2 separate regions of the Homo sapiens genome follow, and region 2 is linked to region 1. The links are contacts of gene promoters, found by promoter capture Hi-C in human tissues and cell types (Jung and others, 2019). All regions are on one chromosome and are shown on one strand. The core of a region is centred on a gene start or on the middle of the fragment in contact, and the rest is flanking DNA. Distances in the headings are between cores, read along the strand shown.

The links. The method cuts DNA at HindIII sites, captures the fragments that hold promoters and counts their contacts. A contact is called where the count stands out against the background at its distance.
Region 2: a fragment that was not itself captured here is called in contact with the fragment with the promoter of CSF3R in region 1 in 1 of the 25 tissues and cell types used here (dorsolateral prefrontal cortex).

The regions. Positions count from the first base shown.
Region 1 is chr1:36,481,400-36,484,397 of GRCh38, reverse strand. It overlaps CSF3R (colony stimulating factor 3 receptor), which reads left to right and starts at 1,485. Exons shown (of 17, transcript NM_000760.4): 1 at 1,485-1,587; 2 at 2,861-2,920. RefSeq lists an enhancer at 2,797-2,998. The HindIII fragment of the contact is 11,013 bases long and covers 1-2,998 here.
Region 2 is chr1:37,491,906-37,494,903 of GRCh38, reverse strand. It overlaps MEAF6 (MYST/Esa1 associated factor 6), which reads left to right. Exons shown (of 7, transcript NM_001270875.3): 7 at 797-2,998. The coding sequence ends at 805. Among named protein-coding and RNA genes, the nearest start is that of MIR5581, 7.6 kb to the left of the region's middle. The HindIII fragment of the contact is 5,415 bases long and covers 1-2,998 here.

The DNA of each region.
Region 1 (2,998 bases), core at 236-2,735:
AGGGACCAGCCCATGTAGCTATTTGCGGGGGAAAGAGTCCAGGCAAATGAAACAGCAAGTGCAAAGGCCCTGAGGCAAGAGACAGCATAACAAGTTCAAGAAGCAAAGAACACAGAGTAGCTGGAGCAAGGCAGCAAGGGGGAGAATAACAGGAGAGGGATCCAGGAGGTAACAGGGATACCAGGTTTTGTAGGGCCTTGTAGACCATCCAAAGGGCTTTGACTTTGACTCTGAATGAGACAGGAGCCATTGGAAAGGTTGGGACGAGGATGGGCTGATCAGACTTCTGTTTGATTGATATCGCACTGGCTGCTGAAGGAATTACAGACAGGTGCGGGAACAAGGATGAAATAGAAGCAGGAGAGCAGGCAGGGGGCTATTGCGATTATCTAGGCAATAGATGAGGGTAGCTTGGAGCTGGCTAGTATTGGTTTCAGTTATATTTATATTTTCCAAATATTATCATAAAAATATTCAAACGTAGAGCCAAGTTGAACTTTACAGTGAATACCCAGGATTCTGGTTATATTTGGAAAGAAGAGAGTCCATGGGACTCACTGAGCGAGCAGAGCCTGTGGGATATCTTGGGAGGGTTGCAGCAGGCAGTCAGGTCATTTGACTTGGAACTAGAACTACAGCCCTGGTCTGCAGCATCACACCAGACCCAGATGCCTCAAAAGGATTATATGTTAAGGACAGTCTGCTGGTCTGTTGGCACCTAACCTTTTTTGGGTTATGAATCCAATAAACTATGAGCAGTTTGAACCTTTCTCAGAAAATGCAAAGAAAATTATTTGTAGTTTTAGAAGAATCATGAATACAGACAATAAAAGACATAAAATGTAGTCTATTTCACTCAATTACAAAATATTCAGTGTTGCAGAACCATTGTGGGTAAACATTCCTAATTTTTAGTGAACATATAAAGACCCCGTGCCTCACCAAGACGTCCTCCTGTCTTGCCCCCAGAATTCCTGTTTCTCCATCTGCCTGGTCTATGGGCAATGCACAGAATACGTAATGAAGAGGGGAGCAGTGAGTATTGGGTTACACAATTCCCTGGAACCTGGAACACACCCTTCTGAGTACTGTGAAGATGTGGTCCCCAAGGCTAGAGCTGAAAAGAGGCTTAGGGCCGGGTGAGCCTTCCAGCCAGGGCCTGCCTCCAAGTGATGCTCCCCCAGGGCAGGGGGCATAAGGATGGCACCCAGCCAGGTGGGAGCCTGGGCCCTGCCCAGCCTCAAAGCTTTGAGCTCAGGAAATCCGGAGGCAGGGGAGGGGGACATCGTTGCCACATTCCCCAGCCCTTTAAGACCCCCAAGGCAGGAAGGCTGCCCGGGCCTCACCAGCTTCCCTCACAGGCTCCTTCCTGGGAGGAAGGGGCTGCCTGTGCCCTCGAAGGCGCAAGGGAGGGCAGGAGGGAGGCTCGGAAGGTGTTGCAATCCCCAGCCCCCGGGCCTGTCAGAGGCTGAGCCATTAACGACAGAGCTCGGGGAGAGAAGCTGGACTGCAGCTGGTTTCAGGAACTTCTCTTGACGAGAAGAGAGACCAAGGAGGCCAAGCAGGGGCTGGGCCAGAGGTGCCAACGTGAGTAGGGGATCCCTAGAGAGGGGCTGAGCCTTGGGCTTGATGGAGAGCTGGAATCCTGGGGCCACTCCCCACAGCTCTGCCAAGTGTTCATGTCCGGGGTCCTAGGCCTGGGGCCCGGGATTCGTCCTTTGGAACCCCAGCCCTGGACACTGAGTCTCTTTTCACAGGATGCCCCTACTTTTGGGGGTATTGCACCAGGGAAGTCACTCACAGCCAAGTATCTCCTTGGGGACACTGAGCTGGGCTGGGGACAGGCATAATCATTCTCCCCTCCCCATGCCTCTGTCTCTCAGGACGTGTGTGTCTGTGAGTTCCAGCCGCGCAACCCCTCCCCGTCTGGGTCTCTATTTCACTCTCTGTTTCCATCTTTCCTCCTCAGCTTCTCTCTGGCTTGCTATCTCTCTGAGTTTCTCTGTCTCGCATATTTCCTGCTATCTCTTGAATCTTAAACTCTCGGTAACAGACGCTTCCCGGGCTCCAGGCCTCCGAGTGCCCCCCCCCCGCCCACTCTCTGGGTCGGCGTACATTGGGCCCTTTTTCTCTGTCTCTCGATATCTCTCTGGCCTCAATCGTCCTCTTGGCGAGTCTCTCTGTCGTTTCAGTCTGTGTGGATTTCAGTCACCGCCTCACTCTGTCACTCTTCCTGTTGCTCTCTCTTTTTCTTTATCTGCAGCATATCTGGAAATGCCTCTCCCCTCTGTTTATTCCCAGCCCCCTCCTCCCTCCCCACCCTTCCCACAGAAAGAATCTCGAGGTGAGAGTAGAAACAGCAAGGGAGCGAGGGGTGTGAAGTGGGGAAGAGAGTGTGAGGGGAGAGGGCTGAGCGTGATGAGGGAGAAACAGAAAGAGGGAATGTGAAGGCAGCCAGCCCAGGAGACATCGAGCTGTGCTGGGCCACAGGAGTGAGCACCTGCAGAGCCCAGCAGAGATGGCCGCAGTGACAGGAGGGCCAGGGGGCCCAGGAGTTAGGAGGAGAGGATCCAGAAAGGGGGCTTTGGAACTGCGCAGTGTGGCACAGACAAAAGCAAGGTGGCAGTCCTGGGAGGTGTGACCACACAGGCTGTGAGGGAGGCAGGGGTGAGGGGAAAACTGAACTGTGCTGGATTCTGTGAGCTGCTGACCTGCTATTTATGGCTCGTGAAAATAACCTATGGTTGCTGAGTGCCAACTCCATGCAAGGCACAGGGCTAAATGCCTTTACCAAAATAATCTCATTTCATCCTCACAACAACGCTGAGGAGTGAGTGCTAATGTTATTTCTTTCCCACAGATGGGGAAACTGAGGCTCGGCTCGGAAAGGTGAAGTAACTTGTCCAAGATCACAAAGCTGGTAAGTGGCGGAGCTGGAGATCAAGTCAGGTGACCTGAATCTGAGCTGGGCTCCAAACCTCTCTGCATATCGGCCCCC
Region 2 (2,998 bases), core at 229-2,728, 1.0 Mb before region 1:
ACCATTTTCAGATGTGAAATATTGTACATTATATTTGGAATAGAATCTTTTTTTAAATTTTTTTTTTGTGTGTGTGACAGGGTCTGGCTCTGTCACCCAGGCTAGAGTGCAATGGTGTGATCTTGGCTCACTGCAACCTCTGCCTCCCAGGCTCAAGCCGTCCTCCCACCTCAGACTCCTGGGTAGCTGAGACCACAGGCATGAGCCACCACACCTGGCTAATTTTTGTGTTTTTTGTAGAGACATGGTCTTAATTTGTTACCCAGGCTGGTCTCGAGCTCCTGACCTCAAGTGATCTGCCCGCCTGGGCCTCCCTAAGTGCTGGGATTATAGGCCTGAGCCACCACGCCTGGCCTGAAATACAATCTTTTTTTTTTTTTTTTTTTTTGAAACAGAGTTTCACTCTTGTCACCCAGGCTGGAGTGCAATGGCGCGATCTTGGCTCACTGCAACCTCCGCCTTCCAGGTTCAAGCGATTCTCCCACCTCAGCCTCCTGAGTAGCTGGAATTACAGGTGCCCACCACCATGTCTGGCCAATGTTTTGTATTTTTAGTAGAGACGGGGTTTCACTATGCTGGCCAGGCTGGTCTCGAACTCCTGACCTCGTGATCTCCCTGCCTCGGCTTCCCAAAGTGCTGGGATTACAGGTGTGAGCCACTGTGCCTGGCCTGAAATATAATCTTTAGCTATAGAGCAGTCCCCTAGTAGAGTTGTTTATGAGATTTTTTTTTTCCTTTAGGGTCAAACAACTGTTCTGCCGAGAGTAAGTTGGGACTTTTGTTTTTCTTTCTTTAGGACTATTAGAAGACACATTAGTGCAGAAGCTTCCAGGCTGTAGAGCCCTGCTTCCCTTCTCTGACCTCACAAAGATAAACATCCTTCACCTGAGTTCGTGGCCATCCACCTCTGCTCTCCCAGACCCAGTGCCTGTGACTTTGAGTAGTTTGTTCTAAATGTGGTGACAAACAAGTCATTTCTGTAAGACATTGGGTCTTACTTTATGTCATTTTTAGTAACAGAACTGCAGGAAGATGAAGACAATGTTGTAATCCCAGCAAGTTGCTAACTGTGCGTTTCTCCCTTCTTAGAATGAATGTCTCCCCCAAAACTGGCTGGCACCAGCTTCATCTGTGATACCCTTCAAGAAATGTTCTCTGGTTTTGTTTTATGCTGAAAGTAGAACACAAGTCACATTTCAGATGGAGGCTGTAAATATCTGGCATTTTCTTATATTGTTTTATGTTTTCTTGTTTTTCTCTTGTTGTTTTTATCTTATTTTCTTTGGGGTTTTTTTGTAATGCCTTTGTACAGCTCATACTTTCCTGCTGACATATCTGATCATCTCTTTCATGCAGTTGCCAATATTCATAACTGAAAATAATCTGGTTTATCATAAGTAAAATGGGAAACTTGCCTCTGTTTTTTGCAAGGGGAGGTAAAGAGTGTTTAGTAATTACCTATCTTAAATCTTTCTGAGTTGGTAGTAGATTCATGTTCAAGGAACAGGAAAAATGGAAAAACATAAGTTTAAATCAGTTCTTTTTAAATAACTTTTTATTCTTTTGTATAAATAAAATTTCACAGGCTTCAAATTCTCATGCTTTACTTTTAAACCCGAGATTGTTTTTTCACTTATTTATTCATATCATGCCTTATGGAAATTTCTTTTTCTGTATTTTCTCTCTTTGCTGGTATTCACCTGATTAAATATTGCTCTAAAAATCACCATGGCATATGGAAAGTCTCAAAATTATACCAAAAGTGATAACTTATGTCGTTCTTAAGTGGAGTGAAAGGATAGCATCAGTGAGAGCCAGTGTTGCCCACCAGGTCTCCCTTTCTTGGAGGGCTTGTTGGGGCTGAGGAATCTGCTAGTAATCGTTACCTGCCTCTAGTGCTGTGGTGAACTTGCGACAGGGTCTGGCTGCACATTGGAATCACCTGAGAAGCTTTAAAATACTCATGCCTGGATCCCATCCCTAGAGACTGGGGTACAGCCTAGTTATTGGGAATTTCTTTAAAAGAGTTCCTGGGATTCTGATAAGAAGCCAGGTTGAGAACCACTACATTAGAAGACTGAATGGTTTAATTTACATCCTATGTTATGATTGGTCTAAGGGATAAGATTTGGGGTCTAACCTTTCCTTTCACTCTAGTTAGTCATAGTCCTTGACTTATGCCTATATCTTTGTAAGAAATAGTATGTTTCATTTGTGATAGTATTGGTAGGGCTGAATATGGATGGCATCTACTGTAAAACAAGTCTACCTTGTCAGATGTGCAAAAGCTTTCACTCTTGTTCTCAAATAAACTTTTGTGGGTTTTTTTTTTTTTTTTTTTTTGACTCTGGCTATTTAGATCTTTGACTGTGTCTTTGGTAGCAGAACTCCAGTGTCAGGATTTTTAAGGAAATAGTTTCTTATATTTAGATTATTCCTTAAAAAAAAAAATCCTAGAAGCATTCTGTATTTTTTGTCTGTTGGTCTCCTTTGCTGGGAGGGAGGAGTGGGATGCCTACAGTTTCCTTCCTTTTGGGGAAAGCACACAGCAGACCTTAAAATATTTTTGACTCTTGGGCTGGGTGCGGTGGCTCACACCTGTAATCCCAGCACTTTGGGAGGCCGAAGCGGGCGGATCACGAGGTCAGGAGATCGAGACCATCCTGGCGAACACAGTGAAACCCCATCTCTACTAAAAATGCAAAAAATTAGCTGAGCGTGGTGGCGGGTGCCGGTAGTCCCAGCTACTCGGGAGGCTGAGGCAGGAGAATGGCATGAACCTGGGAGGCGGAGCTTACAGTGAGCTGAGATAGTGCCACTGCACTCCAGCCTGGGCGACAGAGCGAGACTCCATCTCAAAAAAAAAAAATATTTTTGACTCTTAACAGTTTGAGATTGCTAGAGATGGAATAGTACTGCTCTGTTGCGCCACTGCACTCCAGCAGCCTGGGCGACAGAGCGAGACTCTGTCAAAAAAAAAAAAAAAAAGAAAGAATAG